Regions from separate parts of the Homo sapiens genome. Here region 1 is linked to region 2. Evidence: promoter capture Hi-C in 16 types of primary human blood cells and fetal thymus (Javierre and others, 2016). All regions are on one chromosome and are shown on one strand. The core of a region is centred on a gene start or on the middle of the fragment in contact, and the rest is flanking DNA. Distances in the headings are between cores, read along the strand shown. Region 1 holds the start of OR5AU1 (olfactory receptor family 5 subfamily AU member 1). Region 2 holds the start of SLC39A2 (solute carrier family 39 member 2).

Region 1 (6,128 bases), core at 3,278-5,777, 160 kb before region 2:
GCAGCCCAAGTGACCTTGGTGACTTCTGTAGACGAAAATTACAATGTCTGATAAGAAAACATACACTGGATGAGATTAACAGCAGATTTAGAAAGGATACAGTAGACTTCAACAACAGTATCCACCAATTTGACCTAATTGGTTGTTACAGACCTAATTGGAAAGTTATAGATAAAACATTCCACTCAACATTTCAAGTTGAAATAGAACATTCAAGTGGACATAGAACATTCACCAAGACAGATCATATTCTGGGCCTTAAAATAAGTCTCAATAAATTCAAAAGTATCAAGTCATACAAAGTGTATTCTCTGACCATATGCTATTAAATTAAAAACGAATAACAGAAAGATCCCTAGAGGATTCCCAAATATTTGGAAACTATGTAAGATGCCTCTGATTTTATTATAATCTTGAAGAGTTCCAGAGTCCAGCCTTAAGATGCCTGGAAGCTTCTGTATCTCTCTTTGGGCCCTGAGCCACCATGTGATGAAAAGTCTGATAATTCTGCTGAAGATACTATGAAGGGAAAGGTCTAGGCAGCCTCCAGCTATTCCAGCCCGTCACACTGAAGTATGTGAGTGAAGCCATACCGAACCATCCAGCCCCAATTGAGGCTCTAGATGACTGTAGCTGCATGAGTAACTTCAGGTAACATCAGCAGTCTAACCACTCAGCTGAGCCCAGCCAAGATTACAGATATTTGAGCAAATATGTGATTGGCTTAAAACGTTGAGTTTTAGGGTGCTTTGTTAAGCAGTAATAAATAAGAAATATTTATTGTGGGGATCATTACAAATGTTGTCTTATTAAATTCAGTCTTATCAACAGGTATATGAGGTGGGTACTATTATTATCCACATTTTACAGGTGAGAAAAATGAGTATCAGCAAAGTTAATAAACTTTCTAGATGTCACCTAGCTAACAAATTGTTAAGCAGGGATTTGACAACAAGCTGTCTGATTTCAAAGCTGTACTGCACATTAAAACAGTTATAATGGTATTCCATATGTACAAAAAATGTAGACAGGAAGATATAAAAAGAGACTGAAAACAAACTTCTGTAGATGAAAACTGCAGTGTCTGATATGAAAACATACACTGGATGAGATTAGCAGCAGATTAGAAAGACTCAAACAACAATATCAACCAACTTGACCTAATTGGCAGTTACAGATAGAACACTCCACTCAACAAAACAGAATATATATTCCTTTCAAGTGGACATAGAACATTTCCCAAGATAGGTCCTATTCTGGGCCTTAAAGTAAGTCTCAATAAATTCAAAAGTATCAAGTCATACAAAATGTATTCTCTGACCATATGCTTTTAAATCAGAAATCAATAACAGAAAGATACCTAGAAAATTCCCAAATATTTGGGAACCACATAACATGCCTCTAACTTTACTATAACCCTGAAGGGCAGGAAGGTCCTCAGCTCTCATCTACAGCACAAATGTACATTGGGTAACTGGCATAGAAGAAAGAAAAACCTGGTTTTCCAGTGTCGAGGAAATACAGATAATCACGTAAGAGTTAAGTTTAGAGTGAAGGTGGAGTAGTGTTTTGGGGCGAATGAGCAGCATATTTGCAGGGATCTGTGTGGATCTAGTCCCCTCATTCCCAGTTTCCCAGCCACTTGTTTCCTCATGGGTAGACTCTCAGAGATGCTAGTAACTTTTCAAACACTTTAATGGGCCTTCATGGGGCTAATTAGTCCCACTTCCTCACCTGCCTTTTAAACTTTAATCAGTGAACACATCCTCCTCCCCAGTGGTGAGCTGCTGGGCTGCCAGGGGAAAAGATGGCTCTGGGGTTGCTCCTGCCAGCACAAGATCAGCTGTGAGGAGCTCACAGGGAGTGGGGCTGCCTCACACCTCTGACAACGTGAAAGACTAAAGTCGGTGACAGGCTCTGATCCCCAGACTCAGTCTATGAATGCAGAGTCTGGCTTTGTCTTTGCTGTGTTTCCATGGAAGACTTGTGTTCTGACCCCTACAGCAACAGCTCTGACATCAAGCCAGGTGCTTTGCTGGAATTACATGGTTTGCTGAAGGACATCTGAAGCTACTTTGAAGGAAGAAATGCTCTGGTGTTAGATTATCATCAGGTAGTAACCCAGATTTCCGGAAATGGTTAACCACAGATAGGTCTTCTGGAGGGAAGAGCATGTCCAGGATGACCATCCTACCCACAGGCTGATTTCCCAGGACACGGACAAATCCAGCAAGCTAGGAAGAGATACGTATATGTGGCTCAGGAAGATCTGTTTGCTCCTGCAAGTACCCCATGGTTTAGTGTTTCTCAGAGTGAGGTTCAGAGACCTCCTGTCTCAGTCAGAATCACCAGACTTTGGGGCCAAGCTATAGACCTATTGGATCAAATTTTCTGTGGGTTGGGACCTGGAATCTGCACATGTAACAAGCTTCTCCTGTGAACCTTGGGCAAGGCAGCTTACTGTTTAAGAACCATTGTTTGGGATCACTGTTGCTCAGGGAATCTCACTGGCTGCTTTTCTTGGCTGCCTGCCCTTCATATCCACATGTGCTCTCACTGTGCTATCCCAGGGATGGGGGCAATGAGTCGGGTATAAACAGAGCTTCTTTCCTATGCCTCCCTCATCCACAGGCCCCAGGCATTTGCTCTCACTCTTATGCACTCCACTCCATAATCCACTCCCATATGATAAGATCATCTTTAAGTTTTCCTCCTACATTTCATTCACAGGTACAAACAATAGCCAATAGAAATAGTGGTAATTCCAGCATCCTTTGAACAACTGTCAGAGATGCCAATTTCTCCATAATCCTTTCCTTGAGTCACTCTATATTCTTAAGAATTTTGAATTTAGTGCAGATTGGTGAAGAGAGATGAAAGAGGAGAGGGGAGCAGAAGAGAGAGTGTGGGTTTAAAGTAAATGATAAATCTGGAGGCTCTGATCAGCTATCCACTGTATTACCCACCACCCTACCCCATCCCATCCCACCACTCCACCCCAGTGTATGCTTCCTGCCTCATCCATACTGTCTGGAGCATTGCACATATTTCTATTTTTCTCTTCTTTTGTTCTTTTAATCAGAGAGATACTTGCAGACCTATTACCTAAATTGAAACAGCCCACCAAGGAAAGAAGATGGGAAGCTGGGTCTGAAAATTCTACTCCACTCCTAATGACCACCTTTCTATTTTCTTAAAGTGCCTGCAAGTTATTTCCACTCTGGGAGTTTTACAGTCATTTATCTGAATTCCTCTAATTTGCCTTGAAGTCGAATTGGCCTTTGTCACCAATGGCGCCAAAGACATTTGCAACCCAAATCTAGGACTGCCCACATTCTACAATAGTGAGATTTATTATAAAATGACAGCTGTTAGAGTAAGGATAGCTGAATGTTACATCTAAGTGACATGAAATAAGTCACAGAATTGCATTCCATGAGTTCTAAAAGCAGTTGCTAATGTTCTGTGTTCAAATTTGCACTTATATTTTGTGTCTCAATTTTATTAGGGCATGTTACCTCTTTGGGCATTTCTAAAAGCCTTTTTCTTGTCACCAGTCACAGTATTCTATCAACACAAATGGTGCCTCATTCCCTGCCTGACAACTAAATTTAGTTATACATATGTCCAGAATCTTCTCCTGCCCAGGTAGTTTGATGATTCTGGAAATTATGTCATTGGAATTCGTCAGAATGTTTGCTTGCTCAATCCAGCTCTTTCCTCTCCAAATTCTCCCAACACTTTTCACAGGTGTGTTATTCGCTTACTCTCCTCAGGGCAGGATGAGGCAGCTCACTTTTGCCCCTTTTTGTCCTACTCAGCCACATCTGTTAGCTTCAAAGTCTTTGTAACTGAGAGTCTTCACCCAAGAGCACAGGGTGCTTAACTGGCTCAGCACCCAGAGGTAACTTGGGAAGACACGTGGTAGAGGAGCCAATGGAACAGAGGAGAGTGTGGTGTTTAGGTGATGCATTCAAGCTTTGTTCACTCTCTAAATAGAAAAGGCATTTTCACAAAGACTCACTCACTTCGTTCCTTTCCTACTGGCCATAACATCCTCTGAGTCCAGGGTGATTTTGTTCTCTGGAAATGATGGGCAGCTTTATGGATGATGAGGAGACTCTCCCGTTGGTGGAGGCTCCCACATGCAGTCTTACACTACCTCCATCTCTCCACACTCTCAGCCCTTGTTACCTTAAGTATTCACATTATTGCCTGGGTAGTGCTGATTTCACAGGGCCAGTTTTATAGCTGACCCATCAGCCATCTACAGCCTCTCTGAAAGCCTGTTTAGTCACGCTTGCATAGCACGTGTGTCTCTGTCTATACTGTTAGGTGGTAGGTTGCTTGCTAAGCTTTGTTGTGGGTTCATCTCATTTATCATGTTTATTTAGGTTTTGGATCTATCTTCTTAGTGAGCATGCTCATAGCTAACCTTCTTTGAACTTCCTCAACGTGCTGGAATTTGTTCAACTTCTCTGCATGAAATAACTCATTGAATTTTTATAATAATCTTTATAGACAGTTGCTATTATCCCTATTTCACAGATGGAAAAATGGAAACTCAGAAAGGTAAAGTAACATTCCCAAGATTACACAGCTAGTTAATGGCAAAGTCCTAACTTTGAACCTTAGCAGTCTGATACCACAGTATGTGTGGCTTAAACACAAAATATACTGTCTGTAGAATATAAGCTTCCCAAGGTCAGGCACTCTTGAATTCCTGATAGGGAGAACACAGAGCTAAGCAAATGGAAAACTATGAATATATACTTGGTGAGTGACTGTTTCATTACTTAGAATTTTTAAGATCCCCAAGACCAATTGTAGATATTTCTCTTATATTTTCCATTGCTGCTTAAGTAATGCTTACCAACTAACCAACCAACCAAGGAGAAAAGATCCTCTCTATGACAGAGTTTCATCTGCAAAGCCAAATGCCCTCAATAAGACTCATCTTCAGAAGGCTGTCCTTAGGCAGAATTAAACCCAGTCAGAGCCCCAGGTGTTCAACCTCATTTATGGTGGTGCCTTCTTTCTCCATCGCAGAGCACTGGAGAAGGATGAAAGGGGCAAACCTGAGCCAAGGGATGGAGTTTGAGCTCTTGGGCCTCACCACTGACCCCCAGCTCCAGAGGCTGCTCTTCGTGGTGTTCCTGGGCATGTACACAGCCACTCTGCTGGGGAACCTGGTCATGTTCCTCCTGATCCATGTGAGTGCCACCCTGCACACACCCATGTACTCCCTCCTGAAGAGCCTCTCCTTCTTGGATTTCTGCTACTCCTCCACGGTTGTGCCCCAGACCCTGGTGAACTTCTTGGCCAAGAGGAAAGTGATCTCTTATTTTGGCTGCATGACTCAGATGTTCTTCTATGCGGGTTTTGCCACCAGTGAGTGCTATCTCATCGCTGCCATGGCCTATGACCGCTATGCCGCTATTTGTAACCCCCTGCTCTACTCAACCATCATGTCTCCTGAGGTCTGTGCCTCGCTGATTGTGGGCTCCTACAGTGCAGGATTCCTCAATTCTCTTATCCACACTGGCTGTATCTTTAGTCTGAAATTCTGCGGTGCTCATGTCGTCACTCACTTCTTCTGTGATGGGCCACCCATCCTGTCCTTGTCTTGTGTAGACACCTCACTGTGTGAGATCCTGCTCTTCATTTTTGCTGGTTTCAACCTTTTGAGCTGCACCCTCACCATCTTGATCTCCTACTTCTTAATTCTCAACACCATCCTGAAAATGAGCTCGGCCCAGGGCAGGTTTAAGGCATTTTCCACCTGTGCATCCCACCTCACTGCCATCTGCCTCTTCTTTGGCACAACACTTTTTATGTACCTGCGCCCCAGGTCCAGCTACTCCTTGACCCAGGACCGCACAGTTGCTGTCATCTACACAGTGGTGATCCCAGTGCTGAACCCCCTCATGTACTCTTTGAGAAACAAGGATGTGAAGAAAGCTTTAATAAAGGTTTGGGGTAGGAAAACAATGGAATGATTTCTCAATGCATTACCACATATCTTTAGAAAGTCAAGGGAACTTTTACCTTAGGTGGTGTCACCCTGAGCACATTCCCATGCCCACCCCTGTGAATATTGGGCATGCCCTCTGGTCTGCAGGTGCTTC
Region 2 (5,897 bases), core at 1,933-4,432:
GGAAAGACAATTGGTAAGACAGGCAGGAGAAAAGCCAGTGAGTCCTGCAAGAGCCAAGTAATCATCCCAGGCATTTATTTTAATATCTAGCACCTTTCTCCCTCTCCAAGCACACTGCTTTTTAATCCCTCAACACAAGGCAGCTGGAAGGAGATAGAAGCTCAAAGAAGAGCAATAGTGTCCCTGAGGCCACACAGGGCTCGGTGTGAAAAAACAGGAACCTAATGGAGATAGGTTCCATTCTGCCTGATCTCCATTTAGCCTGGACATGTTATCGGTGGCTGATAATGGGTACTGGGAATGGGGTGGTTATGGTAAGTGTAGGAACATAATCGATCCACGTCATTTTGGCTTTTAACTTTCTTTCCTTTTAAATGCTGGGAACTGGCTCATTTTCTCAACTACAGTGGGTAAGGTGGGAGGGGAATTTTAGCAAGGTGCCATGTCTAGGGGTGTGGCTGCAACTGACAGGATGGCTAGGAGCCCTAATTCCAGAATAAAATACTGCATTCAACACTCATCCTTCCCATTCCCCATTCCACCACTTCCTGTGCCAGGTAGCATCTAGGCAACCAGGAGAAATGAAATCCAGAATGGCTGAAGGAGGGTAAAATGGGCATTTTATTACACACAGTAGCATAAATGGGATAAGAATAAAATCTGGAGCGTCTCTGTACCAATTCTCCAATTAATAGCTGCTCAACCTAAATATCTTTGTCTTAGTCCAGGGTGAGAAATGGGATCTCATGTAAAGGAAACCTGGGGTCCAGTCCAGTCCTACTGAATGCTATTTAGTCTGAGTAAAGAAATGTCTGAGGGTCAAAGCCATTTGGGAGGTCTCCCTGGGGATAGAGAGGTTGTCCTAAATAGGTCCATCAGAAAAGCCAGGAATCTCTCAGGCCCACAAGGCAATAAAGGCCATGAAGGCAAAACCAGCGGCTACACAGCTCCACTTAGCTAGAGGGGCCTCAGGACTAGCTAGCTCCCGTGGAAGAATTTCTAGGAAGGTGACATACAGGAAGGTACCAGCTGCCACACCCTCTAACACAGCCTGGGCTAAGCCCCGCCCTCCTTCAGAGTCCCCTCCAGTCACAGCCAGCCCTACGGCTAGGCCCAGGGGGGACATGAGAGCTAATAATAGTATGGAGAACACTGCCCATCGTGAGCTGGTACCTAAATGCACTAGCCGCATTCCTACACCAAACACCACAAGCCCCTTATGAGCCAGGACAGCAAGGCAGAGCTGCACGGTAGCTGCTACTGTCGGCTGCAGCCCCACAGCTAGCCCTTCAAACACTGAGTGAAAGGAGAGTGACAGCAAGAGGACAAGGGCTCGGAGGGGACCCTTTGAGGGTGAGGGTAAATGTCCATGGCTGTGGAGTTCGAAGATATGAGCCCCACCCCATTCTTCGTCCTGCACTGTCGATCCTCCAGCAGCCCCAGGACAGCACTGCAATGCCAGCGACTCCAAAAAGAAGACAAAAAAGAAGCCCAGGGAGATGATGAGCTCTCCATAGGGATACTCCATCTAGAAACAAAAAGAAGGGCTGTGAGATGGAAAGGAAGGGTAGGCAATACATTGGATGGACATGGAATTGGGAGATTGAAGAGAATGAGAAAATGTGGTAACAGAACACAAAAAAGGGTAGGGGAAATGAAGCCAAGAGTAGACATGGCCATGCAACAACAAGAATGCCAGAGTGGGCCGGACACAGTGGCTCATGCCTGTAATCCTAGCACTTTGGGAGACTGAAGTGGGCAGATCACTTGAGGTCAGGAGATTGAGACCAGCCTGGCCAACATGATGAAACCCCGTCTCTACTAAAAATACAAAAACTAGCCAGGTGTGGTGGCACGTGCCTGTAATCCCAGCTACTCAGGAGGCTGAGGCAGGAAAATCACTAGAACTCGGAAGGCAGAGGTTGCAGTGAGCCGAGATTGTGCCACTGTACTCCAGTCTGGGCGACAGAGAGATTTCATCTCAACAAACAAACGAAAAACAACAACAACAAAAGACTGCCAGAGGGGCTAAGGGACAGAATCTCAATAGAGTTAAAAACATGGGCAAATGATGTGAGGTATATCAGAGGATCCAGGGAAAGAATGAAAGAGTAAAACAAGGGCTTTCCCTGGCATTCTATAAACTCAAAAGGATTGGATTTGCTCCTCTTTTCCTCTACGATGTCTGAGCTAGGGAGCAGAAGGGATTCTTGGTACTCCTCATGTATTCCTCTCAAAAGGGTCTGGATATGAAAGGCCTCTCTGGTTCTCCTCACTCTCCAGATAGGGGATGGTGGGAGGTACTTACATGAGCTGAATCAGCATCACCAGAAGAATTTCTCTCACTTGCTGATCTGTTCTAAGAAGAAAGCAGCAGAAATTAGATGTGGGATGGAGCAGCACAGCTTCCTGTGCTGTCCCTTCAGCAATTCTGTTTTCCTTAAAGCCTAATCTGACTTGCTTTCACCATCCCACACAAGAGCTGTCATTTTCCTTGTCGTTCCACCCATGTCCTTGGCTCCATCACTTTCCCGCTCTCTTCCCTTTGTCCTGTTTATCATTTTGGCCTCATAGACCTGCGGCTTGAAATCTCTGCTCTCACCTGCACCATGAACTTCTGAATCTGTGATTCAATTTCCTCCAGGGCTTCAGCAGTCATATGCATGAACCCTGCTCCCAGGAAAACACCAGCAGAAATACAGCCCAGGAGTCTGAGGACTAGCCGGTGATGACCTAATAAAAAGCAGAAGTTACAACCCACTTGACACTGAGGAGACAGACAAAGGTGAGTAAAGAGCAGCAGGCAGCACTCAATATCCCAAGGTTGGGGATGGTGAGAGAATCAGAGCAAGGTATCAGGACAGGGTTGAGGTGAGACTCAGGCTATGGAACAAAGATGGGGTAGGGCTATACCTCTGGCTGCATCAATCTGGAACCATTTGAAGCAGATGGGAGTAAGGCCACAGCCCAGAGTGAGAGCCAACAGGGCAAACAGGCAGCCAAGTTTTATTCCTAGTAGTTGCTCCATCTCTGGGGTGTAGGGTAAGCCCAGGAGTCAGAATGACAAGGGAGCTGTAATCTTTGGAGCAGGAGTGGTATCTTAGGTGGTCAACACTGGAGTGTCCACTCTCGTGAGTTTCAGGAGGCTGTTGGTATCTTCTTTCTGTGTTGCTTCTGCTTCTGCAGCATTGCAGAGCTGACAGATCCTGCCCCAGCTTCTAGCCCTCCCCCTGCATGGAGGCCCCTCCCCTGGTTCACGCCTTCCTGAGCTTGGAAACCAGAAACTCCAGACTCCCTGCCAGGCACAGCCCAGTGGCGTCTTCTCCTCCTCTTCAATGGCATGACTAATCCAAGAGCTACGGATAGTCTTAGTTCATGTGCTTGGGGTTGGTCTAATCCAAAATAGGAAAGTCTATGGTAGCTGCTTCCCAGCTATTTTGTACTGGGGACAATCTGGTCCTGTCTCACTCAGGACGTTTGATCTAAGCCTTCCATACCCTCTCCACCTCATCCCAAGTCTTATAGGTTGCAATGCTGATACTTGAACCACCCGCTTTCAGAGATTTGGGGCCACCTGGAGGTAAAGAGGTGGGGCTGAGAGGTGGTGCTGGTGCTACTCTGTGGGAACTAGTACCCACATGAGGGAACTACCCTTTCCTGTAACCCCAGAAAAATAGCTCCAGGCATGGAAATGTCTAGTGGTAAGTTGATTTGTTTTTTTTCTTTCTCTTTTGATTGGGATCAGTTTTGAGAGGAATGAGTTGAGATGTCTGGTATTACAACATTTATACTGTTACAACTTCTAACTGTGCCTGTTTCCTGGTAAGAACTGTGGAAAAAAAGACATTTAAGGTTTAAGACAAAGGAAGCTGCTCTAGCCCTGAAACAGCAAGGCTTAGGGGAAAACAGAAATGAACTGAGTGAATGGGAGGATTCTACCTGGATATAGAGAGGTGGGGGTAGAAGATTCAGTTCTGATGGGAATCACTCTTGATGGAAATGTCTGGGGCATTTCCCATACATACTCTAGGGTAGCTGAGGGACCCTGGGAAAGACAGAAGGGAAGGCGTTAGTACAAGAGGCCAGGCAGCTGCTGATTCCCCTATTCAGGTGGCCCACATAACAACCCTGAGACCTGTTGAGCCAGTTCTCAGAGCTCTGGAGGCAGCTTTCCTTGCTACTCCAGATTATTTTCCTAGGGAAGTCCTGGCCTCTGGTAGAAGCAGTATTCTTACAGTGTTACTGGATGATTCTTACAGTGTTACTGGTCCTGCTGCTTGTTCTTGTGGTCCGGTAATGAGATGCAGACAGACAGACTGGGAAAGACGGGAGTTTATTTCTGCAACTGATTACAGGGAGGTCGGAGTAGCACACCAGACCAACTCAAAGTTACAAGCTTTTCTTTAGCTTTTATATACAATTCAAGCTCTATGACTACCTGCGGGAATGTTTCCTAATTAATCTAAACTAGGGGTCTGCAGGTAGAAGTTTTTTTTTTGTTTTTTAGAAACAAAGCAATAAACGATTTGATTTAGAAATAAAACCATTCCCATTATTGCAGCATTATCATCAGTCACTGATTGCTAATGCTGTTTACGCTTCTTTTTCCCTGGGATGTCTGAACCTGGCAACTTTTCTTCCTGTTCTTCTATTTTCTTAGCAAACCCACATCAAGGGTGTCTGTTCGCGTTTGAAATTCATCGGCACCAGAAAGAGCTAACATGTTGGCAGTATCTAGAAAACCATCAACATGAGCATGGGACAGTTCGCTTTGCAGCTGATCCCACCATAGTGAGTGAGTACTTGCAGACAGAAGTTTCTTAATCTTAAGTTGGTCCTGGGATGGGTTGTATGTGCAGGAATGCTTTTATCACTCAGCTAGATCTGAGGTAGAGAAAGTATAGGTGGGGCTTTAAAGGGCTTGCTTTTTTTGTATTCTGGCTTTCGTACTCAGGCACCAGTTTCCCCCGATTCCTTATCCATTTTTCTTGCTTCTGCTTTAATGTTTAACTTGTACATTCATCATTATAGCAAAGGGCTTATGGAAATCTGGTTTTTCTACTTCTGCTTTAATGATCAGCTTACACATTCATCATTACAGCGAAGAGCTTATGGAGCTCTGAACTGCCACAATAGGAGAGGGCGAGCTTGAGATTTGTGTGGGAAGCCTGGCACCAAAAATCTGAGGAAGCTCTTCATTACAGGATAGGCCAGGATAATTAACTATACCTTTTACATGTTTTTTTTTTTTTTTTTTTTTTAAGGGAGGACGTCTTGCTCTGTTACCTATGCTGAAGTGCAGTGTTACAATCAAAGTTCACTGTAGCCTTAACACCTGGGCTCAAGTGATCCTCTTGCCTCAGCTTCCTGAGTGGCTGGAAATGCAGACACATGCCACCGTGCCCAGCTTCTACACTTTTTAAGAATCACAAAATCCACTTCCATTCTTCAAAAATTTATTATTTATTATTAAAAATCTCAAACAAACACAGACATATGGGGATACCAGCATTCCCCTCCTGGATACCAGGCAGCTTCAGCCCTGGCAGGCACGATAGAAGAAAATACTTGTTACACATCCTCATCAACTCTCAGAGGGATCCTGAGCCGTAGATGGAGGAAACGCAGACGGAGTAAGCACAGGTAAAAGATCTCCCCAGGAGCTGACACGGGCACAACGATACAAATCCCTGTGGAAACAGATGCTGGCGTGGGCTGCAGCTTCCTGCCACATCCCACTGATTTTGGTCACACCCCCCATACCTGCCGTGCCGGCGGGCTGTGAGCACAGCATGCTGCATGTGCCCATCTGGACAGCACAAGTGACAATGCACATGGCGAGGCCGTTTAAGGACAGGCTGAGTGATACGGGGCCAGCGATGAGCCTCCTCTGGAGA

The links. The method cuts DNA at HindIII sites, captures the fragments that hold promoters and counts their contacts. A CHiCAGO score of 5 or more calls a contact.
Region 1: a contact is called between a fragment that was not itself captured here and the fragment with the promoter of SLC39A2 in region 2, in 1 of 17 cell types (M2 macrophages). The highest score is 5.9, in M2 macrophages.

What each region holds. Positions count from the first base shown.
Region 1 is chr14:21,154,808-21,160,935 of GRCh38, reverse strand. OR5AU1 (olfactory receptor family 5 subfamily AU member 1) reads left to right here and starts at 4,873. Exons shown (of 1, transcript NM_001004731.3): 1 at 4,873-6,071. The coding sequence starts at 5,064. The coding sequence ends at 5,999. The HindIII fragment of the contact is 340 bases long and covers 4,358-4,697 here.
Region 2 is chr14:20,996,578-21,002,474 of GRCh38, reverse strand. SLC39A2 (solute carrier family 39 member 2) reads right to left here and starts at 3,182. Exons shown (of 4, transcript NM_014579.4): 1 at 2,914-3,182; 2 at 2,603-2,733; 3 at 2,309-2,359; 4 at 604-1,528. The coding sequence starts at 3,028. The coding sequence ends at 896. LOC101929718 (a long non-coding RNA gene) reads left to right here and starts at 3,312. Exons shown (of 4, transcript NR_110139.1): 1 at 3,312-3,701; 2 at 4,661-4,795; 3 at 5,265-5,643. METTL17 (methyltransferase like 17) reads right to left here. Exons shown (of 14, transcript NM_022734.3): 13 at 5,764-5,897; 14 at 5,440-5,690. The coding sequence ends at 5,585. RefSeq lists enhancers at 1,924-3,123, 5,147-5,897. The HindIII fragment of the contact is 5,548 bases long and covers 1-4,398 here.